Regions from separate parts of the Homo sapiens genome. Here regions 2, 3, 4, 5, 6 and 7 are each linked to region 1. Evidence: promoter capture Hi-C in 16 types of primary human blood cells and fetal thymus (Javierre and others, 2016). All regions are on one chromosome and are shown on one strand. Each heading gives the region's core, a stretch centred on a gene start or on the middle of the fragment in contact. The rest is flanking DNA. Distances are from core to core; before and after follow the strand shown.

The links. The method cuts DNA at HindIII sites, captures the fragments that hold promoters and counts their contacts. A CHiCAGO score of 5 or more calls a contact.
Region 2: a contact is called between a fragment that was not itself captured here and the fragment with the promoter of SP8 in region 1, in 2 of 17 cell types (naive B cells and total B cells). The highest score is 14.0, in naive B cells.
Region 3: a contact is called between a fragment that was not itself captured here and the fragment with the promoter of SP8 in region 1, in 2 of 17 cell types (total B cells and naive B cells). The highest score is 14.1, in total B cells.
Region 4: the fragment with the promoter of HOXA11 here is called in contact with the fragment with the promoter of SP8 in region 1 in 2 of 17 cell types (naive B cells and total B cells); the score reaches 28.5 in naive B cells.
Region 5: the fragment with the promoter of HOXA10-AS here is called in contact with the fragment with the promoter of SP8 in region 1 in 2 of 17 cell types (naive B cells and total B cells); the score reaches 49.2 in naive B cells.
Region 6: the fragment with the promoter of HOXA5 here is called in contact with the fragment with the promoter of SP8 in region 1 in 2 of 17 cell types (total B cells and naive B cells); the score reaches 22.4 in total B cells.
Region 7: a contact is called between a fragment that was not itself captured here and the fragment with the promoter of SP8 in region 1, in 2 of 17 cell types (naive B cells and total B cells). The highest score is 10.0, in naive B cells.

Annotation. Positions count from the first base shown.
Region 1 is chr7:20,785,551-20,788,215 of GRCh38, reverse strand. It overlaps SP8 (Sp8 transcription factor), which reads left to right and starts at 1,330. Exons shown (of 2, transcript NM_182700.6): 1 at 1,330-1,438; 2 at 2,421-2,665. The coding sequence starts at 1,418. The HindIII fragment of the contact is 6,810 bases long and covers 1-2,613 here.
Region 2 is chr7:27,249,715-27,252,379 of GRCh38, reverse strand. No RefSeq gene overlaps it. Among named protein-coding and RNA genes, the nearest start is that of EVX1-AS, 3.8 kb to the right of the region's middle. RefSeq lists enhancers at 347-1,050, 2,508-2,665. The HindIII fragment of the contact is 6,789 bases long and covers 1-2,665 here.
Region 3 is chr7:27,206,079-27,208,743 of GRCh38, reverse strand. It overlaps HOTTIP (HOXA distal transcript antisense RNA), which reads right to left. Exons shown (of 3, transcript NR_037843.3): 3 at 1,485-2,665. Among named protein-coding and RNA genes, the nearest start is that of HOTTIP, 7.0 kb to the right of the region's middle. The HindIII fragment of the contact is 1,227 bases long and covers 735-1,961 here.
Region 4 is chr7:27,183,919-27,186,583 of GRCh38, reverse strand. It overlaps HOXA11 (homeobox A11), which reads left to right and starts at 1,352. Exons shown (of 2, transcript NM_005523.6): 1 at 1,352-2,148. The coding sequence starts at 1,440. It overlaps HOXA11-AS (HOXA11 antisense RNA), which reads right to left and starts at 1,176. Exons shown (of 2, transcript NR_002795.2): 1 at 321-1,176. RefSeq lists enhancers at 225-1,106, 1,989-2,665. The HindIII fragment of the contact is 8,872 bases long and covers 1-2,665 here.
Region 5 is chr7:27,167,546-27,170,210 of GRCh38, reverse strand. It overlaps HOXA10-AS (HOXA10 antisense RNA), which reads right to left and starts at 1,312. Exons shown (of 3, transcript NR_046609.1): 1 at 1,218-1,312; 2 at 447-904. The region is part of intron 1 of HOXA10-HOXA9 (HOXA10-HOXA9 readthrough); the gene reads left to right. MIR196B (microRNA 196b) reads left to right here and starts at 648; the gene lies at 648-731. RefSeq lists enhancers at 446-1,036, 1,037-1,627. The HindIII fragment of the contact is 2,254 bases long and covers 1-1,863 here.
Region 6 is chr7:27,142,280-27,144,944 of GRCh38, reverse strand. HOXA5 (homeobox A5) reads left to right here and starts at 1,264. Exons shown (of 2, transcript NM_019102.4): 1 at 1,264-1,899. The coding sequence starts at 1,338. All of the region lies in intron 1 of HOXA3 (homeobox A3), which reads left to right. The region is part of intron 1 of HOXA-AS3 (HOXA cluster antisense RNA 3); the gene reads right to left. The HindIII fragment of the contact is 13,335 bases long and covers 1-2,665 here.
Region 7 is chr7:25,865,709-25,868,373 of GRCh38, reverse strand. No RefSeq gene overlaps it. Among named protein-coding and RNA genes, the nearest start is that of LINC03007, 77 kb to the right of the region's middle. The HindIII fragment of the contact is 5,129 bases long and covers 1-2,665 here.

The DNA.
Region 1 (2,665 bases), core at 81-2,580:
GGCCCAATCGCCATTAGACACTGACGCCTGGATAAATGTCCAAGATTTGTCAAAAGCTCCTCTCTATTCTTAGATAAATAGAACCCATATATTTCGATCAAAGTCCTGATTCTTTTCTCAGAAAGAGGCAGTGAGGTTTTCTGTGAAAATTTCTAAATTCCGTAAAACGCTCTTCAATTTCTTACCCAAAGAAAAAACGACCCTCGCTTACTCTCTTCTCTATCTAATCCTTTTGTATTGAAATTTACTCAACACCACGGGACACACACACCTCCTCCCCTAGAGTGAGACGTGCACTTCTAAAGCAGAATTCCACCTCAGGGAAAAAAAAAAAAAAAAAAAAAAAAAAAGCCACGGCATCAAAGAAACAACTCATGGGCGCGCAGGCGCGCATCCACGTCCCAACGCATCCCTAAAAATAACCCTTAGCCTCTCAACCTTTCTACTATTTCGTTGGAGAGCCGGGAAAGAAAAGGTGGGTTTAAAGATCTTCTTCAAAAATGTAGTGACGCTGTTTACCAAGTTAAGAAAAAAAAATCACTCAAGATTTTAGGTACAAGGAGCCAAAGGAAGTTGGCGACAGGGGCAGCGTTTGTGAATATTTATTCACTCAGCCTCCATCAACTTAGTCGGTTTCTCTCTTCAGCTCGACAGTCTCTCTCTTACAAACACACACTTTATTGCATTGTTCCCATTCCCCACTACCAGCTTTGGTGCGCGCACACAACACAAGCGCCCACACACACCCTTCCCTCTTCTCTGTCGCACAAATACACATGTTCACAGCCCTCCTTCTCCCCCAACACCAAACACACTCACCCCCCACCCAGTTGAGTCCCTCTTCCCTCCCTAGGTTTGTCAGTTACACTACCGTACACTCACACCCTTCCCAACACTTAACTGCTCTGTCCCTCTACCCCGCTTTGTCGCACACGCAGTTATCTTATCACACAACCCTCCCTTTTCTGCACTCTCTCCACTCCCCGCCTTTACCACACTGTCACTGTTACGGTGTCACACCCCCATCCCCCCTCCCTCCAGTCTCCGCACTGTCCTCTCCTACGCCTGGTCACACTCGCACACAGTTACATTGTTACACACACACTCATACACGCGAGCGCGCGCTTTGCGCTTTGTAACACACGCAGCCGCCCCCGCCCCCTCCGCTCCCACTCCCCCTTCCACCACGGCGGCAGGCGGCGGCGCCGATGACCTCACGGCGCGCGCGCCGCGCGGCCCGGCGAGGCCGCAGATTGGCTGGCCGCGCCTCCGCGGCACTTCAAAGCCGGAGAGGGAGCTACAATTGTGGTGGAATGGGCGGAACTGATCATTGTATTGCACACCTCTAAAAAAAACACTGCCTCTGATTTATCAATATAAAAAAGATCCTCTGAGAGGAGGAGGGCACTTTTGTGTGATGGCAACTTCACTTCTAGGGGTGAGTCTCAGGATTTTCTCTTGCTGGTTTAATTAGTTTCCTTTTATTGCCGATTGGAGGGGGTTAAAGTCGCCCCGGCCAGGCCACGGGCTATCAGTCTCTCTATTGAGAGCTTTTTTTTTTTTTCTTTAAATACAAGTGAGTTTGGAGAAAAGAAAAAGGGGGAGAAGGGGGCAGAGTCACTTTTTTTCAGCGCAGGAAAAGGTTCGAAGGGCATTTAGACAAGCCACCGCGCAGCGCCTCGCTGCTCCCTGCCCGGGAGACCTGCGTCCAGCCCATTTTACAGGCACCGATTTCGGGGGTAAAGAGAGCAAGTTTTTCCTTCTGGGCAAAGTGCAGATTCTTCCCCTAACCCTTAAAAAAAAATTCTGCAGCCCGCCTTGTCTCGCAGGTACGTTGAACTCGTCTCGTTTTTACTACTGTAGATATGCTTTTAAAAAAAGAAAGAAAGAAAAGCAGGAAGAAAGAGTGAGCCCTACAGTTTGATTTCTTTTGGCCTGGGAGAAACAACCCAGGATGGGTTTCTGGGGACCCGAACAGGTTTTTCAAAGCTCTCCGGATTACAGGGAAGCGCTCTTAAAAGCAATCCAATGGTTTTCCCCCAGGCTTCTCGGCAAAGAAAACTTCCTTCCTCTCCAATCTGGACTTTTTGCTTGTTTGTTACGAAGTGTCTGGGGCTTTGTGTGCAAGAGAGTGTTGTTTTAGGTGAGAATACTTGTCAAACTCTTCTTTAGCGTGGTGCTTGCTCCCGAATCAGACGCCGGCAGCCAAACTTGTCCCCTCCTGTAGAGTAGGAAGCGGCCGGGCGCCGGGGCTGTTGGGGGTGCCAGGTGAGTTGGTGGCGGCGCGCCGCAGCGAGAGATGGGGTGCAGTGGGGCGCTTTGGAGGCTACCGAAGGACTGATGCACATTTCTTCCTTTCCTCCCCCACCGGCCCTTTGCCCACCTCCCCTCCCCCACTCCTTCTCCTCTCCTCCTCGCAGGAAGAACCGAGGTTGGGATCGACTCCTCTGGCCATGCTTGCCGCTACCTGTAATAAGATAGGCAGCCCCAGCCCGTCTCCCTCCTCCCTCTCGGACAGCTCTTCTTCCTTCGGCAAAGGCTTCCACCCCTGGAAACGCTCCTCGTCCTCTTCTTCCGCCAGCTGCAACGTAGTGGGTTCCAGTCTCTCAAGCTTCGGCGTGTCCGGGGCCTCCAGGAACGGCGGCTCGTCCTCGGCGGCTGCGGC
Region 2 (2,665 bases), core at 51-2,550, 6.5 Mb before region 1:
AGAGCCCGCGTAGACGCGGCACGCGGTTTTACCCAAGAGCGCCAGTTTCGGGAGAAACAAAACCACCTCCCCGCGCACATCGTTCTGGTCTTTCCCTAAACAGGTTGAGGGAGGGCAAGTAGACACCTGGGGAGGCACCTGTCGCCTGGACTCAACTGCACGGGGTCCTCACGAGGCTCCCGGACGCCTGCGGGAGGAGGGCGACAGAGGGGAACTGGCCTCACCCAGGAGGGGTTATTTCAGGATACAGAAAGGGACACTTCGATGGGGGAAGGAAAGGATTCTTCTCTGAGGGAAGTAGACGCTGCTCACAGGCCCAAGGGCCCCCAGAGGAGCCAGCCATGGAAAGGGCTCCGGCCCAGAGGGACGTGAAGCGACCCGGGCGCGCTTCCCGTCCCCAAATGGCAAGCGGCGGGGGTCGGGGAAGCTGTGGAAACGAGGTTCTTTCCCCGCCATCGGCTTAGAAGGAAGGCCAAGCCTCCAGAGTCCAGAAGCTACCAGCAACCTGTGCCGCGCTCGCAACGAGGCCTTCCGACTTCAGCTACAAAGGCCTCAGCGCCCTGTGGGTCAGACCCAGGCCCGGGGGTACGAGCCCCGTACGGGGAGGGACGGAGACCCGGGCACAAACTGGGACGTCCTGCAGTCAGCGTCCGGGGGCTCGCTGTTCCTCGGCTTGCCCAGCCCGGGCCACACGCGCCCGCTGCCTGCGCGAGGGAGGCGGGAACCTGAAGCCGGCGAGAGCGAGGCCCGGCCCGAGTCGCCACCGCAGCCACAGCCACGGCGCAGGCTGGCGCGCCGGGGACCCTCGGCCTCACCTGGGTCTTGGGGAGGTCAGAAGCGCCCCTAATCCTACAGGGCCACGCCCGCTCCTTTCCCTCGGGGAGCCAGATTGGAATGGCTGCTTTTGATCCCATTTGTTACCAACCCCGGCATTTGTTTTCCATTTTACAAACGCTTCCCTTTAAGTAATTGTCCCTGTTAACAGCGTATACCTTTCAGCAGCGCTCACTGCGCTATAAATAATCTCGATGAAGACGCAAGGATATGACTTTCACAAGATTGGACAATTGATTCAATCTGTGACCCGCGATGGCGAATAATATTGGAAGGCTATTTAAACAGATGAAGGCCTAAATTGTCTTGCTTGTATCTGAATTAATTTCTCATTCATCATCATTATGAAGTGATTGGTCTATTCAAGCTCTTCAGCCTGCTGGAACGGAACGGGATTTAAATGAGATTGTAACACAATTTAAATGCTTGCCGACTTTAACGAGGCCAATTGAGCAGCTGCAATAAATATAAATATTTTTCTAAACAGCCGTGTTTTAAATTATTACTTAATGCTTTCATGTTTTTTTAAGTGGCAGTCTTTCTCTCCCTCCTGCTCCTGCTCAGAATATCACATACTTATTTGCTGAAAAGGTGATTTTGGAAACAACTTTGTGTTTCTGTTTGCTTTGTAGACAGTAGGATATGTTTTGTGATTGGGTTTTGTTTTGTTTTGTTTTGTTTTGTCTTTTTCTCAGAGTCAACATTTCCAGGGTCCCTCAAGCTGGCACAAATGGTGAGCTGAGCCTTAGTTTCACCCTAAAGCAGTCTTCTGTGCTGCCCCCGCAGAGCTTGGGAGGAGCTGAGTGATGGAAGAAATTTGTCGTTTGGATCTAGTCACTTATCCAGACGCAGTTTAGCTGGGTTTTGCAAATGAATCCGTGTTATTGCACTTACAAATGACACCCTGAAGAGTGGCATTGTTTCTGATTTGTACTGATGACCGTCATCATCTTGAACAAATCAGAATTCCAACATATCCCAAAGGTATCCCTTAGAAAGCTCAATCTGCTGGCAGTTTGGCTTCCTGCAAATCAAAAGGAGTAGGTGGAGGCTGACTGAGGATTTCTTTATTAGGGAAGGGGCACAGAAAGAGAACTTTGCCATAACAAATGGTGGCAGGATGGTGGAGGAGGGGGTTGATAATTAGAGAAATGCCAATTTTGTGGCCTCAACCTCCTTTCTCTCCTATCTGTAACCCCACTCCTACTCTTTCCTCTACCATTCTTGGGTGATGATGTATGGAGAGGATGCTAAGATCCCTACTTTGAGAATGCCATCCGTCTGGACACCTTTGGCGGCAACTGTCCACCGCGACACTCACGCTTATTCTCCGGCGGACATATGGTGGCTGGTGTTTCCGCAGTTGGGGAATAATGGAAGCAACCAAGCGGGAGAAGCCTGAGGAACAAAAGAATCTTTTAAACTTTAGTGAAAGGGCCGGGGTTGGGGATGTGGGGGGACACTCGACTTACTGTGAGGACCTGAGCCCAATTTCGGGGTGACTGTCTAAGGCCATGTCCCCCCCGAAAGGCCTAGGGCAAGGAGATGCATTCTGAATCTCTTCTCCCTCAATCCCTGGTCGAGGGAGAGGGACTTCCTGTCTGGAGAGTGCGGGTGCAGGGTTTGAAACTAGGAAGGTGGAGTCAACATAATCACTAAAGAAACCGTTCGTGGGGCATGCCACATTGGGAGACAGGATCAAACTGTAGGACAGAAAAAAAAAAAATACGGACAAGGATGCAGAAACCAAGTAGCGATTTGCTATGTAACTGAGCAATTTAATGCCATAGTTAGGGAGCTGCTAGCCAGAATCATTTTGTCTTCAAGGCTC
Region 3 (2,665 bases), core at 99-2,598, 6.4 Mb before region 1:
CAAGTGAACCTGGGATCCAAGGGCCTGGATCAGTCCAGGTCACATGCTGAGTTCCAATGGGCTGCTGTGTGAGCTTGGAGCAGAGCTGATCCCTTAATCCTCTCAACCTGAGACAGACAAACATACACACACACACACACACACACACACACACACACACACACACACGATCCAGAAAGTCCCCTCCCAGCTCACCTGGTTAGGCCCACACTGGACCCCTGTCTGGATTCCACACCCCCAGCCAAGCAACCCTGCTCTGCTCCCAGCAGAAATCACAGGGACTTCTATTCCTCAGGGTGACAAACGAGTCTGCTTGCTCTTGGTGACATCAAATTACTTTGCACCAGCCTAGGGTCCCATGACCTGACATAACCTCACATTAGATCCTAGAAATGTAAAGAAATATGGCCTTTTAAAAGTGGCTGAGAGCAGGTAATTGCTAGCAGGCTTGAAGGGTTGTCCCAAGCTCAGCTCGCGACCTCTGCCTCCGAAGCTGATACCAGCAGGAATTCATGCGTTTGGACTCTCTATGGGCAGAAGGTCGAGCCTGCATTTAACTCTGGACAATAATCAGGTTCTTAAAGCCCAGATTGTTTTTGTGCAGTTACAGAAATCACAGGGAGGCTTTGGACCTAAATGGCAAGGAACACTCGACAGTGGCACCGCCCCCACTGCCCCCCAGCCAGGCTTCCACAAAGAACAGGCTTCAGCGGAGAATGGGCTTCTGCTAAGCTTTAAAAACAGGCCTTCTTTGAGCTGCTGTAGCTTAAATTTTTGTGGAGAATTACAGTTTCATTGCTTCTTATTCTTCTCCCTCCCATCTCTCCCTTCCTCTTTGTCTCCTGGCTTGTCTGTGGCTTCTCTCTTCCCCTCTCCCTCTTCCTCCGAATTGTTTGACTTCTGCAGTCCCCACCCTTACCCTGACCCGAGCCCTCACCCCTGCGGTGAACTCCATCTTAGGATCTGGAGACATGGGACCCTTAAACCCACCACTGTGCCCAAGGCTTGGTAGGAGTCAATCTTGCTGATACCCCACAGACAGTGGGCAGAGAGCTCATGGCTTCTGCAACATATAGTTGGAGTCGTTCGAGATTATTGTAAAATATGTACACACACTTTCTTCTCTTTTTTAATTTACATACCCCTTATGAGTTTCATCAAATAGCTCTTTTCTAATACCATGAGAATTTATATGCTTAGTGTAAAAGCATCCCAGATATTTAATCACTACTCAAAAAAATTAATTAAGAAACCATAAACAACCCAAATACAAAATACTGCCATAGAAAAGATGATCAGTATCCACTCAGACAAGTGGGGTTAGAATTTATTAAGCAGCCGGGTAGTGTAAAAGTTGTCAAATTCAACCGTGTGCTATTTTCTGTTTTTACCTTTTTGCTTTCTGAAGTTGCCAAGCCTTTCAGTTAAGTCACTTTCAGAGTTCGACAGGGAGAATCATGCTCGTTGTAAATGAGACTACCAGATTAAAACAAAAGAAACCAGAACATCTTTATTCATTCTTTTTTAAAAATAATCCCTTATTGCTAGGGGGATATTTTCAACGCATGGCATTGAATTTCTTCCTGAAAACTGCGGTTGCTCTGATAAGCCATCAATTCAGTGCAAACTTTCCTAGTTTAATCATTAGAAATTTCTTTTGTGTTTCTACCAGGGGAGAAGTTGTGCTGAAATGAAATATAGTCATTTACCCACTAATAAGTGAATATGTGTTAATTTAGGACACACTAAGGACTGAGGTATGTTTTTTGTGTTCCTCCATAATTCTGATGCAGCAATAGAAATTTTCTATTAAAGGACGATTCTCTCATATAAAAAAGTAACATAAATCTTCCTCTTTCATATGTAATTTTTAGAAAGATGAGACAAGATTTTTAGGCAAGATGGGTCCACCCCTCAAACCCCTTTTTTGTCCAGCTTACTCCTGGGTGAACCCTCAAGCTTTTTCTAGAGTTTCATTGCAATAACCCAATTTCAAGCCCTTTTACTCAATCTTGAAATATAACAGATCTTTGAAATCCTATGGTGGGGGTGAAATGATGTGATGCTATCTGGGATTTACTTTAAAATACTAAAGATAGAGAGAGAGGAAGTGGATAATAAAACACTGAAGATGAAATTATAATAGGGGTCAAAACTTGGAGATGGGTACCTAGGGGTTTGTTATGCTTGTGTGTGTGTTTGACAAATTCCATAATAAAAGGATTTTTTTTTTTAAATTGTATCGGGCAAAGGTGGAAAAACTATCCCTGCCAAAGGGCTACCAAAAAACAAAAAAGTGGTCTGTTGGTTAGCACCTGTAGTTGCCCATTCCTAATTCTTGATTTCCAGAAACAGAAAACGACCTTGCTCCCTTTTCATTTCTCTGGAGTCAGCGGCCAACCTTGATGCTTTCTTTCCGGCAAACTCCCTCTCCCAACCCATAAACTGAATATCTAAACCCAAGGTTGGAGTATGATTAATGGAACTTCCGTACTCAGCTCCCCTCACCAGAGTGTAAATACCCATACAAACTAATATCAAAAGTTCTTACTGAGCGCTTCGTTTCCCTGAGAGCTGGGCCGAACGGGGCTGGAGCCGCGGGACAAAGGAACCGCGGCTGTTCCTTGAAAAGTGCTGGGTGCTCTAGACCCGCTCAGTGAGAGTC
Region 4 (2,665 bases), core at 103-2,602, 6.4 Mb before region 1:
AGCACAAACCTAGCTTTTTAAAGACATCCCTGTTTCCCCAGGTGCAGGGAGTTCGGGAAGCACCTCTCCTTTCTCTGGTATTGTATTCCTCCTGTGGAATGAGCAGTAGGAAAGGCACAGAGCTCTCTGAGTTTTTGCCCTGCACATCCCTTGCTTTCACTCTCACACATTGCAAGGAAGGAGAGTAGGAGAGTAGGTGGGTTACCCCTTTCTCAGCCACCTCTCCTTGGCCCTCAGCCCGTCCTTTCCACCTCCATTCTCCCCACACCCCTGGAGCTCTGTAAGCAGCCTGATGGGCCCCCCACGAAGATGCAGCATACCCAGGAGAAGTCTCCTCGGATGTCAGCGCCTCTAAAGCAGCCCAAGGCTTGCCTCAATTGCATGGTTTCCCGAGTCCTCAGCTCCAGAAGACCAGGCAGATGGGTGGACCGGTGAGCAGCAGGGCAGCCCCTGTGCCTCTGTCTCTGCCGAGTCACTCCGAAGCCCGGCAGGCAGCGAGGAGGAGGGAGTTTCTCCAAGGACAGAAGGTGGGATGAAGAGGTAGGCAGGGAAGATGAGGGGAGAGGTGGATCCCGGGTAAGACGAAGGCCCTTCCGGGCCCTGCGGATCAGTGACAAACCGCGGGGAGAAGCCGTTCTGGCTGTTGGCGGTTTAGGGACGGAAGGCACTAAAGCGCTTCGGAAGTGACCATGAATGAGAGAGTGTAATCAAGTCACCGTGCAAATCGGACAAGCCACCAGGCAGGCACATCCACGGCTTCAAACTCTGGCCCCGAAGGGGTTCCGGCTAGGGTCGGAGGCAGAGGCGCTTCCCAGAGCAAGTCTATGGGAGGGGGACTGCGAAGAAGGGGGTGCAAATGCGAGACTCCAGGAGAACAGACTCCGAGACCACAGGCCACACAGCGACGGACTCCCACCTGGCTATCCCCAGTCCAGGGCATCCCTCACCCACCCGGGGAGCTGCGGGTGGGAGGTGGGGACGAGAGTTGAGCTCTCACCGCCCTCTGCACACTCGAGAACGAGGACCCTGCAATTGAGCACAAGCATGCTGCATGGGGGCGCACCCCAGCCTCTCCGCGCGCGCCGGGAGGCCCCCCAGCCAACATGAGTTACACCGGCGATTACGTGCTTTCGGTGAGAACACCGAGTGACGATCTGTTGCTTCCCCTGAGGTGGCTACAAAGAAAGGAAGCCGGGAGGGAGGGGAGAGGAGGAAAAAAAAAAAAGGAAAGGGGGGGGGAAAAGGCCCGGACTAGCTAGCAGCTTGTCAATTTCAACATCGGGTCACATGACCAGCACCTCCCTGCTAAGGATGGGGATAGATTTCCACGTCAGCTTACGTCTCCAAATTTCTACTTCACGGATCCGCTTCAAAGAGGCAGCTGCAGTGGAGAATCATGTTAAGCTCGGCTACTGCGGAGAGCCCAAGGTAGCCCAATAATGGATTTTGATGAGCGTGGTCCCTGCTCCTCTAACATGTATTTGCCAAGTTGTACTTACTACGTCTCGGGTCCAGATTTCTCCAGCCTCCCTTCTTTTCTGCCCCAGACCCCGTCTTCGCGCCCAATGACATACTCCTACTCCTCCAACCTGCCCCAGGTCCAACCCGTGCGCGAAGTGACCTTCAGAGAGTACGCCATTGAGCCCGCCACTAAATGGCACCCCCGCGGCAATCTGGCCCACTGCTACTCCGCGGAGGAGCTCGTGCACAGAGACTGCCTGCAGGCGCCCAGCGCGGCCGGCGTGCCTGGCGACGTGCTGGCCAAGAGCTCGGCCAACGTCTACCACCACCCCACCCCCGCAGTCTCGTCCAATTTCTATAGCACCGTGGGCAGGAACGGCGTCCTGCCACAGGCTTTCGACCAGTTTTTCGAGACAGCCTACGGCACCCCGGAAAACCTCGCCTCCTCCGACTACCCCGGGGACAAGAGCGCCGAGAAGGGGCCCCCGGCGGCCACGGCGACCTCCGCGGCGGCGGCGGCGGCTGCAACGGGCGCGCCGGCAACTTCAAGTTCGGACAGCGGCGGCGGCGGCGGCTGCCGGGAGACGGCGGCGGCAGCAGAGGAGAAAGAGCGGCGGCGGCGCCCCGAGAGCAGCAGCAGCCCCGAGTCGTCTTCCGGCCACACTGAGGACAAGGCCGGCGGCTCCAGTACGTATAAAGGCAGCGCCCTGCGCTTTATGAAAGGGGAGTTGGAAATCTAGCGCAGCACCGCTGTTAAATTTTTATATGCTGTTTTATAAGCATATAAGGTTTATGAAGGGCCTTTAGGTTTCCCCCAACAAAACTTTGTTATAAAAGGCGGGATCACGTGGCGAGTGCTGAAATTGGCCGTGAAATACCCACCGGCCAAGGCATGCCTGCAAAAAAAAACAACTCCCCTTTTCCCTTTTTTCCCTTCTCAGCTCCCAAGCCCAGCAGCTCGACCCCGCTCGGGGCCAGCTCCAGGCTGGGGAGCCGGAGGTGGGCGCCTGTAAATTCCCCCTGCAAGGGCTTCGGGAGCTTTTGATAGCGAGGTAATCCGGAGATTTTTATAAAAGCCATGTGTTGCGCCGGGACTCCAGTCCCGGCCGGGATTCAAAGGCGTCGCTGTTTAACGACGGCGCTAGGAGCGCGTTTAACAGATAAAGTAGCCCGCTTAGCTCTAGCAATATATTAAAAGAACAAA
Region 5 (2,665 bases), core at 63-2,562, 6.4 Mb before region 1:
CGCATCTCTAGCCGCTGGAGGCAGCGGTTAGGTGGACCCGGGCTGGACTGCATGGGGGCCTCCCCCTCCCCCAGTACGGCCTCCCCCACCTGGCGGCACTCCTTAGGGCCACGCGTTTCCTGCTTGCCAGAGTGGGGGGGGCGGGGGCTAAGGGGAGGGGGCGCAGGAGCGCGCGCCCCGGCGGGCGGGCAGCTAGGAGGGAGAGGGGGAGAGCGAGAGGCGGGAGGCCGGGGCCAGACAGGGAGCCGGGATCTGTACCGTCCCTGGCGCTTTCGAGCCTTCCACGGCTACCGCCTCTTGGCGCCGGCTCGCTGGGCTGCAAGATTTGGGAAAGCGGCGCGCACACTGCTTCTCGGAGCTGCTCTCGTCTCGCCTGCTCCCCGCCTTTATTCCTCTCTCCCTGCCTTTCCTCCCTCTCTTTTCCTCCCTCTCCCTCCCAGGAATACCTTACTGGGGCCTGTGGCTTCCCCTTCCTTGACGCATTTGCGGCCGCCTGGGGCACTCTGTTGCACTGGCGGGCGCAGGTTGCCTAGGGGCTGGGCTGGGCCGGGCCAGGCGCGATGGCAGGGTTCTCTCCTTGGCGGCGGCGGCAGCGGCGGAGGCGGCGGCGGCGGCGGGCGAGGCAGCCCTTCGCGGGCAGCACCAGAACTGGTCGGTGATTTAGGTAGTTTCCTGTTGTTGGGATCCACCTTTCTCTCGACAGCACGACACTGCCTTCATTACTTCAGTTGAAATCGTCTCCAGGTACCTCTGCGCGCGGGGGTCGGGCCGGGCGGGGCATCACGGCCCTGGTCGTGCCAGGCCTGCGGTGGCAACCTCGGCTTTCCCTGCTCAGGAGCCTCGTGTCTTTCTCCGCAGCGCTTTGCCAGCCGGCCGGCTTTCCCCTTCCACCACACACCTCCACCTGGTCACAGCAGGTAGGGTTAGGTTGGCTGCTCCTTCGCGGACGCCGGGGGCGTGGTAGGAATTCTGGGCTTTGGGCCATTCAAGGTCAGGGGCGCCCGCTTCCATCCTGAGCCTCCCACTGGAGGCCTGCGCCTGCCCAGGGACCTCCTGCCATTCTCTTGTAAGGCTGGAACACACACACACACACACACACACACACACACACACACACCAGTCCCGGGTGTGAGCTCAGGAAAGAACCTCCTTCCAGTGGAGACTCAGGCTGGACTAGGAAGGATAGGGCAGGCTGGGATCCTGGCCTTGTCACTTACCCTTCTCTCTGTAAGCTCGGCCGCTGCTAGGAGTCGCCTCTCTTTTCTTCCTTCTTTTCCCTGTCTTCCCTTCCTCTTTTATCTCTTCTTTCTTTTTTTCTTCTTTCCTTTGCTCCTTCCTGCTTTCTTTTCTTCCGTTGGTCTTTTTTTCATCTTCCGTCTCTGCCAGATTCTATCTCACCTCCTTATCTCCTTCCCAAAGCATCCTTGGGGAGGGGCCCAGAGCTGGCTTCAGGAGAGCCTAGGGGGTCTCACTTTCCTCTGCGGCTCAAGTAGAGGTTGGGAAGTCTGCCGAGGAAGGGCCCGCGTGGGGCGGCTGCCGAGGGCGGTGGGTTTGGGCCTGGTGTGTTACTCTGCAGACAAGGCCTCGGTTATGATCACGACCGGATGGCGGCAGCCTTGCGTTTCTTCGCCTGTCGCTAACGGCTGACTAGGAGATCTGATTAGGGGACATTCGCTGCAGCTTTGTGTGCCCATATCGAGGGCAGGGAGGCCTTCGCCAGCCTCACTGGGGACTGGAGCTGAGGCCCAACCAGCCTCGCTGGAGCCTGGCCATTCGCTGGGAAGCTCTTAGCTGGCTCTTCCCGGCCTGCCGGTCACAGCTTGGGGTTTGACCGCATTGAGGGAGACTGGCTAGGGCAAAGCTTGACTGCTTGCTTACTAGTGGCTTCCATTAGGTACAAAATATGTTCCATACAGCACCTTTGTGCAGCTGGGTGCTGGAGAAGGGGACCCTTCCAAGAGCCAGTATGTTTTAAATGGGCAAAAAGAATCCCAAATTCCAGAGCCATTGATATAAACTTGAGTCATCGTTCCAAATTGTAGTCTACAGATGGGAGCCAGTCTGACCATTTTCCCTACAGAAAACAGAAAACAAACTATCTCTCCCTACTCCCAACACACACAGTTACAGATTCGTGCCCACAAAGCTGTTTCCTTTCCCTGCCTGGACTGGAGGCCCAGGAACTCTTTCGTTGCACAGCCACCGACCTGCTGTCTGAAAGGACCACACACCCCATTCCCTTCAACTCCTCCCTGCCATTTTCTGGACCAGGGCATTGGATTTATTTCAGAGATCACAGTTTCAGAAATCTCAGTCGAGAAGGGGCCGCTTTAAATTATACTCATTTATTATTTCTTTATGCATACGCAATCTCTTTCACTTCGAAAATAAAAGCAGACAAAAAAGTCAGACTATTCTGGCTCCAAACCTTTGGGCTGAAGGAAGACAATATTTGGTTTTCTGATTTTTCTCCGCTTTCTAGGCACCAGTAACATCTGCTTAACACTCAACGCCTGCTAATTGTTCAGTAACTCTCTTATTTTGGGGCTAAGGCTGTTTAAAGGAACAGCTTTTTTACTTAAAAAATACTGAAATAATCAGTGTCTTCTCAGGCATAAAACGTGGAAAAGGCATCCAGACATGCCCAGCCCATTTGCAGACACTT
Region 6 (2,665 bases), core at 15-2,514, 6.4 Mb before region 1:
GCTCCCAGCCTCCGATAGCGCCCGCGTCGCCGCCACAGCAGCGTTCAGGACCCAACGAGGGGCCCAGGGCCATGGGAGCCGCCAGAGTCCTGGCTTCCAGACGTGCCAGGGGCGCCTGCAACGCCGGGCCTCCAGCGGGGAGACTCCACTTGCCTCTCAGCTATATTTGTGATTTACTTGAGTCTTTCGGAGCCGTGGAAAATAACTACAGAGATACTAGGCACTGCCAAGGAATGCTTCCATTATCGCCCTCATTTTACTCCTGGAGGTCTAAGCAAGACCCCAGTAACCCGCCCCACGGATCCCCAGACCCCAGGCAGCCTCTGTGGCTGCAGGGAGCCTGGGCCCACTCGCTGGGTTCAAGGAGAACCCTCCGACTTGGGGCCCGGCTGGCTCGAGGAACCGGACCCTGTGATGAAGATTTTCCAGGCTGGATACGTAAGCAAATCAAATCGCAAACTAATGACACGAAAACCATATTCACACGAAAGAAAAATCGACTACGGTTATAAAAGTGTATGGAATTTGACCTCGCCTTGGAGAAACACTACACAAAAGCTATCTTTAATAGACGCCTGTCATTTAAGAGCGGCAGGGACACTGTCCCTCATGCGCTCGCAAAAACAGAGCCGTAATTGTAGCTGCTGCTGCTGCGGGCAGGATTTATTTCTCCAATTGGCTAAATGGCTTTCCCCCTTCCCCGAAGGTGATATCTGTATTTTCAAAATTCAGAGCTGCTGGCAGGACGGTCAGTACCGACCCCAACCTCGACACAAAAATAAGAGGGGCTGCAAAACGGGGGAAATAAAGTTGTTGTAAATAAAATGCAAGTCACCACCTCCCCCCAATCCTCTGCATCCTCGCCGGGCGCGCGATCGGCAGCTGACGGCCTAACAATTGGTACATCCTAATGGAACTGCGAGGGAAATGCAATAATTTTGCCATAATGGGCTGTAACCTCAATTCGACCCCGGCCCTTGCAGCCCCCGGTCGGAAGCTGGGCGATGAGCCCTGCCTCCAGCGGGTGGCGCTCGAGTCCGGCTGAACGGCGGCAACTGGCGGCGGGCACGCGCCCGGGGCGCGCGCGCCACCCCCCTCGCCTCCACCCAACTCCCCTATTAGTGCACGAGTTTACCTCTAGAGGTCATCAGGCAGGATTTACGACTGGACAACAAAAGCACGTGATTCGAAGTCGTACCCCATATTTGGGTGCCTACGTAGGAGGGAACCAAGTACATGTCCCAGTCATTTCCATAATTCATCATAAATTGTGCAAGGGTGCTATAGACGCACAAACGACCGCGAGCCACAAATCAAGCACACATATCAAAAAACAAATGAGCTCTTATTTTGTAAACTCATTTTGCGGTCGCTATCCAAATGGCCCGGACTACCAGTTGCATAATTATGGAGATCATAGTTCCGTGAGCGAGCAATTCAGGGACTCGGCGAGCATGCACTCCGGCAGGTACGGCTACGGCTACAATGGCATGGATCTCAGCGTCGGCCGCTCGGGCTCCGGCCACTTTGGCTCCGGAGAGCGCGCCCGCAGCTACGCTGCCAGCGCCAGCGCGGCGCCCGCCGAGCCCAGGTACAGCCAGCCGGCCACGTCCACGCACTCTCCTCAGCCCGATCCGCTGCCCTGCTCCGCCGTGGCCCCCTCGCCCGGCAGCGACAGCCACCACGGCGGGAAAAACTCCCTAAGCAACTCCAGCGGCGCCTCGGCCGACGCCGGCAGCACCCACATCAGCAGCAGAGAGGGGGTTGGCACGGCGTCCGGAGCCGAGGAGGACGCCCCTGCCAGCAGCGAGCAGGCGAGTGCGCAGAGCGAGCCGAGCCCGGCGCCGCCCGCCCAACCCCAGATCTACCCCTGGATGCGCAAGCTGCACATAAGTCATGGTAAAGCCAGCCTTTTTCTAAATCCACGCGACCGCGGGGACGCGGCTCTCGGTCCCCCCTCTCTTCTCTGCCGCCCTCTCCCAGTCTCTCTTGGTCTCATTTCTCCCAGCCCTGCGGAGCTCTCCTTGCCGTTCTCCCTCCCCTGCCTTCCTCCTTCCTCCTCTTCTTTGCGAGCACCCTGCGCTCACAAATAGTGGGGGAAATGGGCGTTCTCTGGGACAGTTTAGACGTTGGAAGGGGGAGGAAGCAAAAAACCCCTCTGGAACCCCACGCCTTGGGACGCGCTCCCGGGTCAGGCCAGCCGAGCAAGGCGCAGAGAGGTAGAGGATGGCTGTAGCAGCCGTGAATCGGGCTTGTCACGGCGGATAATTTATGAGGAGGGCTACGCTGGGGAAACAGCGTTACTAATTACAGCCCCCGAAAAGGGGCTTGGGGGAAAGAATCGAGGCGAGAGCCTGCAGGATTCTGAATTTTGGGGGCAGGAGGGAGAGAGAAGGAAAGGGAAGAAAAAGAAAACAGGCTCCCCAACCCTGCAGGCTGGAAACGGGAGGCGGCTCTCGGGGCTGGAACTTTGAGGGAGGGTGACCCGAAGGCCACTTGGGCGCTCAGGAAAGGGCCTTGCTTCCTGGGTTTCTGTGCGGTGGGCAGCCTGGGAGGGCTGTGCCTCCCGATCGGGGCGCCCGGGGCAGGGCGGAGGGGGCAGGAGAGGGGCCAGGGAAAGCCGGAGTCCGCCGGGACACGGCCCCAGCCTCAGATGGGCAGATTG
Region 7 (2,665 bases), core at 115-2,614, 5.1 Mb before region 1:
TATACATATATGTTACCTGTAAATAGATAGAGAGAGGATTCAAAAGCTATGCAGCAAACTGAGGAGGAGGAAGTGGGAATGTGGGAACTTCAGCCTTTTAAATGTTTTAATATTTTGGCTTCTAAAAGCAAGATTGCACTTTTGGATCACTTTTATTTGGTTAAAAAACAAGCAACCAATCTGAAGACAAAACAAAATAAAGCAATATAAACACACCAAAGAAAAGGGAAAAAAAGAAAAAAAAAGCAGAAAGAAAAGAAAAAAATGAAAAAAGAAATGAACAAAAAACAACATCTCTCATAGAAATGTGCCCTACAAAGATAGTTACAGCCACTGACAGAGGTGTAAGAATATATGCATTGCAGCACTGTTTCCAATGCTGAAAAATTAGACACAATTTAAACATCTCCTAATATGGAATGTGTTGAATGAATCCAGTTGTGATCATTGAAAGTAGCCCTGTTGGCCAATCTAAATCACCTTATAGAAGAATCCTGGACCACGGGAAGATTTCCATCATCTACCAAGACTAATAAAACACCCCAACAGTTTACAAAACAGAATGTGCAATATTTAACTTTTTGAAATGCAAATACATACACAGAAAAAAGATGTCAAGAATATATATCATCGAATATATATCAAATATATATCAAGATCTGAGTAGTGGTTTTCTTTCGTAGGGAGTGAATTTTTCTTCCCTGCTTTCTTTGTGCTTTTAAATTTTACTACAATGCACATATATTATTTTAATATTTCAAAATATGTATATAGTTTGGAAAATGCACTAGCCCATAGATGACAATTTTTAATATTGATGACTCTTTTAAAAATCAGGACAAGCTGATACCAGATGCAGTGAATTCTCTGACAACTTTATATTTGAATTTTGTCATCAATCTCCTGTTCATTTACCTCTAATATCCCTTGGAATATTCTTATCAATGATACTGACATTTTGTATATGTTGTGGAAGGCAAACTAAAAAGGGAGAGAAAAAACTATAATTATTAAATATATTTTTTCTAGGAGTGATTTTTTTTTTCTTCAAAAATATGTCCCAAACCACCTCTGGAAGTCACAGTACTATTTCAAATTGGCAATTTTACAAAGAAATGTAATTTTGCCTGGCATACTGTTGCTCACCATCATAGTAAATACAAATAACACTCAGATGCTGAGGCATCAAGGACTCTGGAGCCTGTGAACTTATGTAGTAAATATTTTATAATTTTTTCTATACAAAATTCATTTTACAATCTAACTTAAATACATAAGATTGTTTAGTTTTTTGGGGGGTTGAATATGACTTTGAAAAGTCACTTGAACTTTATCTGTCTGATGTGAAGAGAAAAAATTGAGGCAATTTTCAACGTAATCCAAACTTAAAAGAAAAAAAAAAAAACCTTGTTCATTTTACATTTTGGAGACAGACTGTTTCTTTCTCCCTTTAGATACATTTTTGTATTTGTATGGGAAGCTGGTATTCTGGCACTATTTTGTTTTTATTTTTGTATATGACATTTTTATAGCGAATGAAAGTTAAAGTTTTCATAACTGCTTTGCCATCTTTTAGAAACAGCCACAGAATATAACATCCCTAAATACAGTAACTGTTAATAAAGCTGCCACTTATTTTTTCAAGTCTGTTTTCATTACTTGATTATGGCACTCTGGGTACAAAACATAGCTTGTTTTCATGAAAAAAAATGATAGACATATAATTATCTTTCTCTCTCTCTCTCTATATATATATCTCAAATAGTGAATTCATGGTTTTTCTTTTTTTTTGTTTTTGAGACAGAGTCTCGCTGTCACTAGGCTGGAGTGCAGTGGTGCGATTTCTGCTCCCTGCAAACTCCGTCTTCGGGTTCAAGCGATTCTCCTGCCTCAGCCTCCCGAATAGTTTAACTTCTGCTACTACAGGCGCGCACCACCATGCCCAGCTAATTTTTGTATTTTTAGTAGAGACAGGGTTGCACCATGTTGGCCAGAATGGTCTCGATCTCTTGATCTTATGATCTGCCCTCCTCGGCCTCACAAAGTGTTGGGATTACAGGCGTGAGTCACCGCGCCCGGCCCATGGTATTAAATTTTTTAAAAATACCCATAATGAAAGGAACCTGAAACAAACAAAATACCTCTTTCATGTTCTTAATTTCCTTTCTTGGAGATAGTGTTTGTCCACAAAGGCAAATGCAATCTTTTGAAAAGTATATGGAAACAAACACCTTCCAGCTGTGAGCATGTAATTGGTCAATCAGTTCTTATTCAGAGATGTTTTTAAATGTCACTGTGTATTCTTATTTAATTCTTGGATCCCTGCATCCATAAAAATAGTGGCCTAAACTGTTGCTGTTCTATGGAGATATCAATTTCCATGTCTTTTTCTTACAAAACCATACTGGAAAAATGGATGGAATTACCCATTTCACATAATTCGTAAATTTAAATAAAATAACATGGAACACAGATTTCGACTTTCTCACAGTTGGCAATGTAATTTATATATTTGGAACGTGGTTCATTTCTATTATTTGAACCCTCACTTAAATATGTTAGAGTTAGTTATTACTGTAAGCTGAGAGAACCAACATGTAAAAACAGATTGATTTCCACAACCATCTGCCACCACAATGAAATAATTTGGCTTAGAAACTTACAG